Linked DNA regions of Homo sapiens: all the other regions are linked to region 1. Evidence: promoter capture Hi-C in 16 types of primary human blood cells and fetal thymus (Javierre and others, 2016). All regions are on one chromosome and are shown on one strand. The core of a region is centred on a gene start or on the middle of the fragment in contact, and the rest is flanking DNA. Distances in the headings are between cores, read along the strand shown. Region 1 holds the start of ZNF230 (zinc finger protein 230). Region 2 holds the start of ZNF567 (zinc finger protein 567). Region 3 holds the start of ZNF345 (zinc finger protein 345). Region 4 holds the start of CTU1 (cytosolic thiouridylase subunit 1). Region 5 holds the start of ZNF569 (zinc finger protein 569).

Region 1 (2,670 bases), core at 64-2,563:
TTTTAGATGAATTGTTTCCTAATTTAGCTTTATACTGTTATTATTTTTTAACCAATGCCAGTTTTTAAATTGCTAACTATAATAAAGAAATTATGTTTCACCAAGAAATAAGAAGAAACTTAAAAAAAAAAATCTTTAATTATTGAGGTATCTGTTGCCTAGGCTGGAGGGCAGTGGTGGCATCATAGCTCACTGCAGCCTCAATCAAACTCCTGGGCTTCAGCAATCCTCCCACCTCAGCCTCCTGAGTACTTGGAACTTGTAGTCCCAAGATCAGGCCACCATGCCTGGCCAGTTAAAAAAAAATTTTTATAGAGACGAAGTCTCCCTGTATTTCCCTGTCTGGTCTCCAATTCCTGAGCTCAAGGGAACGTCCTGCCCTGGCCTCCCAAAGGGTTGGCATTACAGGTTTGAGCCACTGCGCTTGGCCAGGAAGAAAACTCTTTATAAGACATGCTCCTTCACCTATAGAATCCTCCCGTTTTACTGCATTTACAATCTCAATGTAAGATTGATACCAATGCCTAGCTCTTCATCAGTCATTATTGCTCTGAGGTACTGAGCAATTCACTACATTCGCTGAAATTTGATGTTTCTACATCTAAGGAGAAATATGAATACCATGAAAAGTTTATGGGAAGATAGCTATTCCATGACGACACCGCTTCTCCACTAGTAGCTGTGATCTTAAATGGGGGTGGCTTTTCCTGCCAAACCAGTGGTCCCACAGCTTCTGGAGTAGGGGCTGGTGTCTTCCTGCTCCTCATTGCCCCTGCCAAACCATTCCACCTGGCTCATCCTTTAAACCGTTAGTTTTAACCTCCCATCGTCAGATTATCCTAATCCTTGAAGATTTTATCTCCTCGTTTGTTCTCTTCCCAATAACACTCCTGTCATCGTGGGAGGCGTTTAGACTTCAGGAATTCCTGTCTATACACTATTTTCGCTCAAAGACTCAGGAAGAGAGACGGACGACTCACAGGGTCACAGTCCACATTCCCCACCAGGCGCTCAGAGATATGGAATACGTTCCCGGTGGGCACTGCGGTGTGTGTAGTCAAGGACCACCGCGGAGTCCAACGCTTCCCGCTGAAGAGTGAGATTATAGACATTTTCCTTTGGCATTGGAGGAAGCGGAGTCCAGACACACTCTGAGTCGCGGGCAAGTTGGCTCAGGCGGGTGGACGAGTGAATTCTGGGAACTGTAGTCCATCAACTTCATGGAATGGCGGACCCTTTGGCTCAAGCAGTTGAACCGGGGAATTCTGGGAAGTGGAGTCCAGACGCTCTGTGGAGACGCGAGCACTTCCGGTGTGTGAGCCTGCGGTTGCTACATAACCGCGTAGTTTGAGCCATTTCTGCGTCTGGCGGGTCCTTCTGAACTTGTCACCTTCGCTTGGGGTCGCAACGACCCGATGATCGATGATCCAAGCAAGGGAAAAGAAGCCTTGGCGGAGAGCGGAGGTTTGGTGGGGGCGGGGAATGGGGTTTTTTTCCCGTCCACGGAAGCTTTCTGGGATGGGGGTGCTGTGCTCGCATCCCGGGGGTTGGAATTGGCGGGGTCCTCTGTGCCCTGCTGTGAGCGTTTCCAGGACTTTGACCTCGCTCAGCCTGCCTCTCTCCACCCTACCTGTGCGACCGCTTTCTCGCAGTGTGACGTGGAGTGTTACTCAATGTCCTTATACTTTCCATTGCTGTTTTTGGTAATGGGGACATTAGAACCATCCTAGTAGAATCGTTTTTGGGAACTGAAAGAGATAACGCAAATGAGAACCTTAAAGCAGTCCCTGTCACTTGGTGACTGGTGGTCTCTTGTTAACTTCCCGAAGAGGTCAGGTCCCCGGGTGGAGTCATAGCTTCAGCTGCAGGGGCCCTGGTCCTTCTCCCTAATCCCTGCAGGACGCTGGATGATCCCGGGAGGCCTTCTGACCTCTTTTTAGGAAAGCGAGTTGCGTCCGCTTCCACGAAGGGCGGGGAGCATTTAACTTTTATGGGGGACCGCGATGCAGTCAGGGTATTTCACAACTTTCGCCTTCCCCAGCCTGACCTTTCTAAAAGAGCTGCAGGGAGGGGACTTCTTGGCTACTGAGGGCAAATCTCTATGTGATTGGTCCTTGGCTTTTTTCCTTTATAGAGATGTTCACCCAACCGAGAGTGTGTCCTCGGGAATGGGTGTTGATAATCATTAAGCCGTAATTGGTAACTTCATTCTAAGTGCTTTATACAAATAAATTTAGGCCACACTGTGGCTCTGTGAAGTATTGCTTTTCTTTGTTTTAAAAATGAGAGTGAGACACAGGGTGCATAGCAGCCAACTAGTGAGAGGTAGAGCTGGGGTTGGCACCTAGGCAGTCCAGGTCAGAGCCTGAGTTGATCACCTCTTGGATACATTCTCATTGAGGCAGAGGAACTAGCTGGACTCGTAGGGAAAGCAAGTTAGGACCTGATTGAAAGGACGTTGAGAGCAAGGCTCGTGGGCTTGGACGTCTAGGAATTTTTAAAAATTTCTCAACTATTTTGTTTCATGTTTTCCAAGTATTTCGTACTGTTGTGGAACTGTATCATTGTGGAAAAGTCTGAAATAGGAGAAATGAGAGTAGAAAAAGTTTTTTAATTACCCATGTATCCAAGATGTAAAGGTAGTAACTGTTAAGCTTCTAATTGATTTCT
Region 2 (2,670 bases), core at 72-2,571, 7.3 Mb before region 1:
CCAGCCTGGGCGACAGAGCAAGACTCGGTCTCAAAACAAAAAAAGGGGAGACCAAATTGGCTAGTTAAATAAATGTATGTAGGTGTTATATCACACCCCTGAATAATTCCTCCGAATCGGGGTGGGGGTGTCAGTCATCTGTACTCCACCCAGAAGTCAATGCCACATTCCTGAGTCTACATACCCGTGAAATGATAGGAACCCATGTGCCCATAAGGTCCTGGAGGGGAATGCAAAGTTGGTCAAGACATGGGAGCTAGACAGCAAGGAAAAGGAATTGCAAAGGGAAGTTAGTAGTTAAATAAGTTACCACATATCCATGTAATATAATACTAAGATAGACAAATGCAAAGTTGTAGAAAATAGTTAAGGAATATTTTCAAGATACTGTATCAGAGAAATCACTTTACAAAACAGGTTGAACAATACAATTATATCAATATGGTCATTTAAAAAGTCTAGAAAGTTAAACACCTGTTTCAGTTATTTATTGCTATATAACCACCTCAAAAGTTTATGGCTTAAAACAAAAAACAATTAGCTTATTATTTGGGGGGCTTGGCAATTTGGGCTTGGCTTGCCTGAGTGGTTCTTCTGCTGATCATATTCATGTGACAGCTGTCAGCTGTTGGCCTGGTGGAGGCTGGATGGTTCAAGATGGTCTCCCTGAAATTTCTGGCCGTTGTTGCTCACTGGACCTCTCTCTCCAAGTGATCTTTAATGCGCAAGCAAGTTGCTCTTAGCCTTCAGTCATGGTGGTCTCAGGGCAGGAAAAGGGGAAGAGAAAAAGCTGCAAGACTTCCTGAAGCTTTGTCTCAGAAGTCTCACAATATCACTTCCACCACATTCTATTGGTCAAAGCACCTCACAAGGCCCTGCCTAATAGTAACCTAACCACTGACTAGCATTTCAGGAGGAGAAAAAATACTCCCTTGCTGAAAAACAAAATCAAAGAGAACAAAAATAGAAAATACAACAAAACTTCCTTGACCTTGGTTTTCAGATATGCTCAGCAATGGTTCCCTTTCCTCAGGGCTCTTAGAGAACCTCAAGGCAAGGGAGAAGGGGTAAGGAATCATGAGACATCAGACCTTTCTTGGAACCCAGATTGGCTAAATTGGAAAAAATTATTGCCACCACACGAGCTCTCATCATCTACCATAAACATACTCAGATGGAAGTAAAAGGGAGATGGGAGTACTGCTAACCCTTCTTAGTATTCAAGGGAAAGGCCAGGGTCACTGATATCCAGGACTGGGGACTTTCTCAAAATTCACGTTAAGTCTCCTGCGGAGACAGCTCTGGGAATGATGTGGATCACATGGAACCTGACCTCTGAGAGTTCCCAAGGGAGAGCCTCTGAGGAAGGAATCCTACTCCTAGGTTCTCCCCACGACGTCTTCCCAGAACTCTGCTTAAGGGACACTTACAACTCGAAAAGCCTCGTTCCGAAAACAGGTCTGTCCTTTTTCTGTTTGCAGATTTTATTCCACCACTCGATTATCCCTTCCCTTTTTGATGGCCATTTCACTGCAGCTGGGGTCTATACAGCTATAAAGCGGGAGAAAAAAGGAAGCTGGGAACTCAGAGATGCAGAGCCCAAGAAACAATCGAGTCTAAAACTGCCGCTTAGGTGGGCACTCCGCCAGGATCCCCTGTGTCAAACACCAGGCTGAGAACTGGGGACAGGTGTGCCCTGAGAAGACAACGCGGGCCATGCTTCATTGCAAGATGACTCTGCTTAACATAGGCATGGATCATAGTCCTCACAGGCACATTGGGGAGATCTTCGACAGACCCCTCAGTCCCAACATTAAACACAGCACTGCAGAAATGAAGCTTTACCCGTTACACACACAACACCACAGACCTAAAAGGCTCTTCCATCACACGGCCACAGCAGCACTGTCATGATGGAAGGTCTCAAACCCTACAGTGTCACACACCCGACAGCCGACCACGGCCACCCAAAGGTCCCGCATCCGAGCAGGGACAGGAACACAATCACGCACCTGTCGCAGCCTCCTCGCCGCGCACACCGCCGCCTTGTCCTGGCATCAAACACACACGCACAGGTGCATACACAGGCCCGAGCTACGGCCCTGCACACCCTGTCTGCGTCCCGGGAGCTCGGGGCTTCCTCACCGTGAGCGCCGCCCTCATCCCAGCCACGCACTATGAGAATTTGGAAGGGGAACCAGAGATCAAAGTTCGAAAACCGCCCGGGCGCCTGTGGGAAATGTAGTCCAAGGCCGGAAACGCCCGGATGTGGAGAAGGCGCGCGTAGCCGGTGGACAGCAGGAACGCGCCGCGGAGACACCTGGGAGGCATCGTCCGCGTGGGAGTGCGCATGCGCAGACGCCCGGCCGGCAACCGAAGGTGAGGCTGGTGGGTCCCGCGGGCGCGGAGAAGGCGGGTGACGGTGTGACCCGTAAGGAAGGCTGAGGAGGGAGGCGGGAGCCTGGGCTGGGGAAAGCAAGAAGGGAAGAGGAGCAACCTGGGACGAGGAGTTGGCTGGAGGAAAGTGCGAGTCCGGGCCTCAGAGAAGGCTGGGAGGGAAGCAGGAACCAGAGCGCGGGCCCGGGAGCACCTGAAGAAGGGAACCGGTTGCCCGAGGCGGGGGGTGAGCTCCCCAGTGGCAGGAATTTCGTCTGATTTTCGTCCCCTGGC
Region 3 (2,670 bases), core at 129-2,628, 7.2 Mb before region 1:
ATTATGACGGGTTTCTTTTTTAAACTACTTGGAGTACTCATAACTGATTTTGTACTCTAGTTCAGAAGAAATGTCTGAATGTTAAATGTTTACATAAAAAATGCTATTTTATTATATCAGTAATGGAGCTTCCCCCCTTTAAAACTGCTGCACCAGGAAGATACAACCTTGTTATCACAATTTAAAGAGAAAATGAGACTTGGAGGTTCAGATTCCTCCACAGTCATAGTATCAGCTACCCACGCAGTGACCCACATTCAGGTGATTACACACACTCATACACAGATCCATACACGATCTTGCCCCCCCCACCTCCACACACTCAATATGACCTCCCCACGCCCAAAGCTGCACACATCTTGACCTCACTTCTCTCACACACACACCAATCTGACCCGCACGCGGTTTCTTTCACTCAACTACCCAGACACCCCTCATCCCACCAGCACAAGCAGGCCCACCGCGGTCTCACACACACTCGAGCCTTCCTTTGCCCAGTCTCACATGCATGACTGGGATCGCGGATTTGTCCCCTTCCGACTCCCCATGCTGGTTCGGTCCCAGACGCTCAGGTGCCACATTGGGGTGCGCTCTCCCGGCTCCTCCACACGCTACGCAGCTGCCCGCCTCAAGAGCGTCTGCGTGCTTCCAGCGTTAAGTGGAATTCCAAGCAGCCTCCGGGGCACAGTTAGTCTGGTCACTGCGGCCAGACTGCCGCCTCAGGACCCAGAGAACGCAGCACACTTTAGTTGGGCCCATCTATCCCCGGCGAGGCTTGGACTACGTTTCCCAGGAGACCCTGCGGTCCAGTATGTCTCCCGAGGAGGGGCGGAAGCCCGGGAGCCGCCCTCTGAGGCTGGGCGGGGTGAAAGAAAGCTTGCCCCAGAGGACTTAAACAGGCAAGAAGGACTTGGTTAAAGACTATTGCAATAGTCAACTTCCAATACAACAGCAGCTGGAGATTTATAGCTAACGGGCTGGGTGAAGGAGTTAAAGGATGCTAAATTACTAAGAGGAAGTTAAGTATCAAGAGTGGGGGGATTGTTACTAAACTGGCTTAGCTGGATTCTTGCTGAAGTGCTGTTCGCAGGCTATGGAGGAGGCCTGGCCAAGCAAAAAGGGCTCAGAGGAGCCTGACTAAAGCTTGGTCTAGGGACTCCTTGTCAGGTGAGACTCCCGGAAGGCTCCGATGGGCAGCTCACCTCAAAGAGATAGTTTTGTTGGTGCCAGAGTCCGCGCCAGGGGAATCGGGATGGCTGGGCTGTAGCTTTCGGCAACCTGTCGCTTTCTGGACTACACTTCCCAGAAGCCTCTAGGCCCAGGGCACTCTCCCGCGATAACTAGATTGTCTCTTGAGGAGTGGGCGGGATCTTCCCGCGGATTTGGGCAAGCGGCCTTGGGGCTTTGTGAGATAGCTAGGGTCGACTTGTGTGGATTCTAGTAGAACGGAGCTGACCCTATCCGAACAGGCGTAAGTGAGGCGGCTCGGAGCCTGGCGCGACAGGAACTCCCGACCTGTGTGGGCTGCGTGGGGAACAGGCTAAGGAGCGATTGTGAGGAGTGTGTACGGTTGTGACTGGGGGCGTGTGTCTGTGCGACCGTGTATGGAACTGTGAGGGCGGGGAGGAGGACTTTTTGTTTATGTTTGTGCGGGTGTGAGTAGAGTTTAATTGTGACCGGGTTGGGCACTGTGTTTGCGAGTGTGAGGTTCCTGGACCGCGGTTGTGACTGTATGTCCCCTTGGGGTGTGTGTGTGTGTGTTTACTACCATTTGCCGAACTGTGTGTAGTATGCCTTAATTTTGAGGTTTGTGGCTGCTTCCGTGTGTGTGTGTGCGCGCGCGTTGGTGATATTGTTGATGGAGGGTGCGTGTGAATTTGTTGTCATTGTGACCCCAAGGTGTATGTCACTGGGAATTTGAGAGATGCCCACGGACTCTGTGGTTGTGTCCGTGTCTACCCCCGTGGTGTGTATGAGTGTGTGATTGTGTGTTGTGTTTAGGTTTGGGGTGCCTGTGACGTTTATGTCCCTGCGGTGTGAGTGAGTTTGTGTGACTATGTGTCCGTATAGCCAATGTAGGTATGGGGAGTCTTTGTCTTTGTGACTTCAGCCATTGGAGACCCCTGTGAGCTCAGGGACAGGTTCTGCCCAGAACGGCATTGACCCTACCGTTGTCTGTGATGCCCGGATTAAGCAGGATGCCCTAGACTTCTCTGACCTTCCTCTGTAGGTGATGGGCAGTAGGGGCTGAGCAAAGATAACTTCTGACATAGTCAAACCAACTCCCTCTCAGAAGAACCTGATGTTTCCTGACTGCTTTCTCCTTCCTCAGCCCTGCCCTGCTTGGATAGAGGCCTCCGAACAGGAGTAAAGAATGGCTGTTGAACATCCACAAGGCACCTGCAAGGTAGCTTGTCCTGTCCTCTTGTTTAAGAAAAATCCCTTTTTCTTTGTCAGGACATAGTTGCTTTCCTTCTCTTGAAAATTCTTGCCTATGAGATGACCTGATCCCTGGAGTTTCCATTTTGAGAAAATGTGGTGTCTTCAAACCCCACCTCCCACACCTGATTTTCCCTTACTGATTTGTCAGATGGTTTTAATTTTTCTTTTTCTTTTTTTTTTCTTTCTTTCTTTTTTTTTTTTTTTTTTTGAGACAGAATTACAGGCGTG
Region 4 (2,670 bases), core at 44-2,543, 7.1 Mb after region 1:
AGACGCTCGCAGGGGACAAGGCTGCACAAGTTAGCAGAGCCTCATAGGCCATGATGTGGAATTTTAGGTTTATTCAGGAGGAGATGGGAGCCTTGGGAGGTTTTTGAACAGTAAAGTGGTATGATCTGGCATGTTTTAAAAGGATTCCTAGACTGGTCAACATAGCGAGACCCCATCTCTAAAAAAATAAATAAATAAATTAGCTGCACCTGGTGGCACAGGCCTGTAGTACCAGCTACTCAGGAAGCCAAGGCAGGAGGATCACTTGAGCCCAGGAGGTCAAGGCTGCAGTGAGCCATGATCGCACCAGTGCACTCCAGCGTGGGTGATAGAGTGAGACCTTGTCTCAAATAAAAAAAGTGGGATTCGTTTGGCTGCTGTGTGGGGAGGACTGTTGGTTGTCAGGGACAAGGACAGAAGGCTGGAGGTCAGCACACTAGACAGGAGTGCTGGCAGTAGAGGTGGGAAGAAGTGAAATTTTGGATCTATTTTGAAGGTGGAGCCCACAGGACTTGTATAAGACTGATTGGAGTGGGGACTGGGGCAACGACGAGAGAAAGTGATGAAGGGTAACTTTGAGGTTCTGGCCTGAGCATTGGAGGGACGGTGGGGCCATTTTGTGAGGTGAGAAGACCAGGAATTCCATTTGGCCACGTCAGGTTTGACATGCATGTTAAGCGTCTTCCCTCAAAGACTTTATGGACCCTCGTCACTGAGTCGAGCGCCTCCACCAGGGCCCTCAGAGCTGCCCTGATCCTGACTAGCTGTCACTGGTGACAGGTCTGTCTCTCTGCTTCAAGGCAGGGACAGGGTTGGTCTGGTGCCCTCGCTCCCGCCGCCCTGCGCAGAGTCGGTGCTCAGTAAGTATCTGTAGGATGAGGGAATAATAAGTGCTCCCAGAAGAGAGGCCGCGGACCCCAGGGATGCCTCTGGATTGCAGCCTTGTCAAAAGGACAGATAATGTGTGGCATGGGGGCGGGGACAGGCAGATAGTAACATAGGGGCGGGGGCAAGCAGATGGTCTTATCCTGTCTTGGGGAAGGGAGTGGCCCGGTAAGAGACAGGCCGGACCGCAGCGTTCAAAGTGGGAATCCTGGCTACAAGGCCTCAGGGACACGGGCGCTGGGAAATCACAGAGGCCTTACGCTCGAAGAGACCCTCAACCCTCCCACGGCACCGCAACAAAGAGCCGGAGTCCACATGCCGACCCACCGCAGGAGGAAATACTCACCCGGGCAGAACTCAGTGCTGGGATGCCCACACTGCCCACCACGCGGAAGCCTGGCCCGGAAGTGACTCCGAGACTACCACTCCCATAAGGTCTTGGGGCTTTCTTGCCTAGAACTCCCAGAAGCCCATGCGACACTTCCGCTGGATGCGCCTACGGCTCCGGGGTCCCGCTTGGCCTACAACTCCCAGAAACACTTGCATTGCTCTTTCTGCCGCTCCCAAAATACACTGCTCCCCCTCCCCCCGCGTTTACTTTCTGCGCCTGCGCGCGGCCGCAGGGAGCGGCGGAGCTGCGTGTACTGTTGTCATGGCAGCGCGCTGTCACCCGGCAGGTTGCTGGATGGGCGAAGTAGTTGTATTCTGATTAACTGATTTTGTGGGATTATTATAGGATTTTAAGGGGATTACAGGGCCTATGATTTCTGCCCTTTGAGGCGGGGTTGCGGGTGGGAATTGAAGGTGGAACTGCAGGGGTTGGTCGCTAGTGTAAAAGGCGCAGATAGCGCATGCGTAGAGCAGACTTCGAGGATTGGAGTGGAACTCCGCGCGCACGCGGGGGCTGTCGTGATGCGCGTGCTGGAGACCCAGACTCTAAACAGAAGGATCCAAAGACCCTTCTCACCTAACCCAGGAGCCCAGAGGCTCAGAGACTCAGACCCTTGAGACTAAGGGGGTTAAAAACGCAGACCCCTGGCACCAAAGCACCTGAGAGAACCAGTAGACCTGGAGACAACCGTCTGCACCCTAGACACAGGGATCTGGAGGCCTCCACCCTCCCCACAAGGCCCAAGGGTCTTGAAGACCCCGGTGACTCAAATACCGGGGCACAAGGAGTTTAAGGACTCAGATATCTGAGACCCTTGAGATCCAGGTCCCCAAACCTAGGTCCTCGAAAAAACTGAGGCTCAAAATTCCTCTAGACGGCGCGGTGGCTTACACCTGTAATCCCAGCACTTTGGGAGGCCGAGGCGGGTGGATCACGAGGTCAAAAGATGGAGACCATCCTGGCCAACATGGTGAAACCTCATCTCTACTAAAAATACAAAAATTAGCTGGGCGTAGTGGTGCGCGCCTGTAGTCCCAGCTACTCGGGAGGCTGAGGCAGGAGAATGGCTTGAACCCAGAAGGCAGAGGTTGCAGTGAGCCGAGATCGCGCCACTGCACTCCAGCCTGGCCACAGAGTGAGACTCTGTCTCAAAAAAAAAAAAAAAATCCTCTAGATTAAGGGACCACCAGAGCCTTAGACTGAGATGTGGAGATGTGCAGAGAGCCCCAGGATGTGTAGGTCTACGGCCGGTGATGACGTGAGAAGGAACCCCATGCACCCTGTAGCCCATTTTTTTCCCCCATAACAGGAAACCATGATGCCTTCCTTTCATATTAAATGAGCTCCGTGAGGTCACTCTTAAGCCTTATCATGGGCCAGTTCTGTTCATCTGT
Region 5 (2,670 bases), core at 51-2,550, 6.5 Mb before region 1:
GAACTATGAATGATTTTTGTTCTTCGAGCTTTTCTGTATTTTTCTCCACCCCACTCCACTCCCCAAATGGGGTGGAGTAGGGAAGGAGGAGAATGAGTTTAGTAAGTACACAAAACAACGTAGCTAATACACGAAAATAAAATTAAAAATAAATAAATATTAAAGTGTTGGGGATATCGATGTTTCATATAAAAACATATTTCCGGCCGGGCGCGGTGGCTTACGACTGTAATCTCAGCACTTTGGGAGAACGAGGCGGGTGGATCACCTGCGGTCAGTTGTTCGAGACCAGCCTGACCCACATGGAGAAACCCCGTCTCTACTAAAAATACAAAATTAGCCAGGCGTGGTGGTGCGCCTGTAATCCCAGCTACTCGGGAGGCTGAGGGAGGAGAATTGCTTCTTCCCAGGAGGCGGAGGTTGCGGTGAGCCAAGATCGCGCCATTGCCCTCCAGCAGCCTGGGCAACGAGAGCGAAACTCCATCTCAAAAACAAAAACAAAAAAACAACGTATTTCCAATGACCAAAGCTAAAGACATGCAGCGCTGGCACAAACGCCAAGTCTCACACATCTACACCCACAAGCACACCCTACCTTGTATCCACAGTTTTTCATTCATTCAAGATCCCACTGTCATGCACGTTTGCACGCAGGTTCATACTGAAAGATAAAAGGGAAAGCGCCTCCACGAAATCCGCTTACGGACACGATCCCGGGGCCACACTCAGCCAGACGAATGTCTGGCAAATGACAGTCACTTCACGCCAGACTCTCACAGTCCTTCACACGCCACTCCCACTGCCTCAGGGAACCACAAGCACAGGCATCGCCCCGCCCGGCGTCCTCCTCCAAAGATTGGGGCACCAGGACCGCGGGCCCCCACTCCCACCCAGCACAAAGAGTCCGGCGCTCAGAGCTAGCGGTTTCCCGAGGACTCACCACCAAGCCCGCGGACACAGGCCCCGATTCCACACTTAACGCTGCCAAAGTGGCAGAGCCGGCGCGGGCTGGGACAGAGGCGGCACTGAGGCCGGCGCTGTCGGTGGCTGAGAGCGCCACAAGTCTCGGTCCGTTACACCAGGGGCGACGCTTCCCAGAGGCCCCCGCGGCTCACCCGGGCGGGACTGGCTTCACTGTTTGCGCGTCCTGAGAAGCAGACCACGGTGTTCCAGGGCTCACAGCTCCGCGCAGGGGAGCTCAGCCTAGGTTTTGCACGAGCGGCCTCCCGCGAGCCCAGCTCTGAGAGATTGGGAGCGCAACTTGGTGCTGAGAAGAATCGAATCGTTCCGCTGCTTCCTGCGCCGAACTACATTTCCCAGAGGCCTTCGCGGCCCTACTTCCCCGACCCCACCTGCAAAAAGGCACTTCCTTCTTACAGTCGGCTGGAGCTGCAGGTTCGCAAGGTCCGTGAAGGAAGCCCGGCTCAGTGTGTTTAGTTCCGTCTTTTTGGGTCTCTACCTGAGGCTAGAATACAGCGGGGTGAAGGTGGTGAGAGCTCCAGGGCCAGTGAAGGCCGGGTCAGCTGGAGCCTTAAGGTCCTGACAGCGGCTAGAAGAGGGAGGAGTGACGTAGTGTGACTGTATGTGTGAAACTTCGGCCATGGAATTTGGAGTGGGGTTTCCAGGGCGAGAGACCCTGTCCAGTGACATCTGAGGTCGTGCGAATATGCGACCTTTTGTGTGACCATGGTCGCGTTTTATATTCTCGTGGCTGTTTGATTCTGACCTTGCAGTTTTGTCAGAGACAATGTGCATGTATTTGTTCTTTCTGGACTTCTCGATTGTGAGTGTGACAGTGTTATTGGATTTCATGACCCGGGATCGTGAGCGAAAAGTAGTGTGGCCAGACCGCCTGACTTCTAAACAGACTTGGCCTTACTAGCTGTGTCATCTCAGACTAGGTACTTAACTTCTCTATGCCTTTCGTGTTTTTTTTTTTTTGTTTGTTTTGTTTTTTTTGAGGCAGAGCCTCACTTTGTTGCCCAGGCTGGAGAGTGCAGCGGCGCGATGTTGGCTCACTGCAGCCTCGAACTCCCGGGCTCAAGCGATTCTCTGCCTCGGCCTTCCGAGTAACTGGGACCACAATCAAGGGACACTCCGCCCGGCTGATTTTTGTTTGTTTGTTAGTAGAGATAAGGTCTCGCTATGTTGCCCAGGCTGCTCTCGAACTCCTGAGCTCAAGCGATCCTCCCGCCTGGGCCTCAAAAAGTGCTAGGATTACAGGCATGAGCCGCACGGGGCCGGTCTTAATACCTTTAATAAAGAGATAATAGGCCGGACGCGGTGGCTCACGCCTGTGATCCCAGCACTTTGGGTGGGCAAAGCGCACGGATCATTTGAGGTCACGAGGTTTTTGTTTGTTTGTTTTTTAAGACGGAGTCTTGCTCTGTCGCTCAGGCTGGAGTGCAGTGGCGCGATCTCGGCTCACTGCAACCTCCGCCTCCTTTCGCCTCCCAGGTTCAGGCAATTTTTCTGCCTCAGCCTCCTGAGTAGCTGGGACTTAAGGCGCGTGCCACCACGCCCGGCTAATTTTTTTGTATTTTTAGTAGAGACGGGGTTTCACCATGTTGGTCAGGCTGGTCTCGAACTCCTGACCTCGTGATCTGCCCACCTTGGCCTTCCAAAGTGCTGGGATTACAGGCGTGAGCCACCGTGCCAGGCTGAGGGTAG

Evidence for each region. Contacts are between HindIII fragments. The CHiCAGO score rates a contact against its expected background, and 5 or more counts as called.
Region 2: a fragment that was not itself captured here is called in contact with the fragment with the promoter of ZNF230 in region 1 in 7 of 17 cell types (total CD8 T cells, naive CD4 T cells, activated CD4 T cells and 4 more); the score reaches 12.6 in total CD8 T cells.
Region 3: the fragment with the promoter of ZNF345 here is called in contact with the fragment with the promoter of ZNF230 in region 1 in 8 of 17 cell types (non-activated CD4 T cells, monocytes, total CD8 T cells and 5 more); the score reaches 23.9 in non-activated CD4 T cells.
Region 4: a contact is called between the fragment with the promoter of CTU1 here and the fragment with the promoter of ZNF230 in region 1, in 1 of 17 cell types (total B cells). The highest score is 5.9, in total B cells.
Region 5: the fragment with the promoter of ZNF569 here is called in contact with the fragment with the promoter of ZNF230 in region 1 in 1 of 17 cell types (activated CD4 T cells); the score reaches 6.2 in activated CD4 T cells.

What each region holds. Positions count from the first base shown.
Region 1 is chr19:44,001,644-44,004,313 of GRCh38, forward strand. ZNF230 (zinc finger protein 230) reads left to right here and starts at 1,314. Exons shown (of 5, transcript NM_006300.4): 1 at 1,314-1,464. ZNF230-DT (ZNF230 divergent transcript) reads right to left here and starts at 1,227. Exons shown (of 3, transcript NR_110727.1): 1 at 622-1,227. RefSeq lists an enhancer at 1,077-1,586. The HindIII fragment of the contact is 6,099 bases long and covers 1-1,507 here.
Region 2 is chr19:36,685,256-36,687,925 of GRCh38, forward strand. It overlaps ZNF567 (zinc finger protein 567), which reads left to right and starts at 2,357. Exons shown (of 6, transcript NM_001322917.1): 1 at 2,357-2,379. ZNF567-DT (ZNF567 divergent transcript) reads right to left here and starts at 2,194. Exons shown (of 4, transcript NR_110708.1): 1 at 2,013-2,194; 2 at 1,431-1,551; 3 at 582-760; 4 at 184-256. RefSeq lists an enhancer at 2,164-2,213 and a silencer at 2,414-2,473. The HindIII fragment of the contact is 1,031 bases long and covers 807-1,837 here.
Region 3 is chr19:36,849,498-36,852,167 of GRCh38, forward strand. ZNF345 (zinc finger protein 345) reads left to right here and starts at 1,379. Exons shown (of 3, transcript NM_001242472.2): 1 at 1,379-1,471; 2 at 2,333-2,407. It also overlaps a transcript of ZNF790 not described here. RefSeq lists an enhancer at 902-1,141. The HindIII fragment of the contact is 2,588 bases long and covers 1,142-2,670 here.
Region 4 is chr19:51,107,116-51,109,785 of GRCh38, forward strand. It overlaps CTU1 (cytosolic thiouridylase subunit 1), which reads right to left and starts at 1,294. Exons shown (of 3, transcript NM_145232.4): 1 at 1,232-1,294. RefSeq lists an enhancer at 1,260-1,589. The HindIII fragment of the contact is 4,633 bases long and covers 1-2,670 here.
Region 5 is chr19:37,466,144-37,468,813 of GRCh38, forward strand. It overlaps ZNF569 (zinc finger protein 569), which reads right to left and starts at 1,301. Exons shown (of 6, transcript NM_152484.3): 1 at 941-1,301. It also overlaps a transcript of ZNF570 not described here. RefSeq lists an enhancer at 1,122-1,171. The HindIII fragment of the contact is 12,295 bases long and covers 1-2,670 here.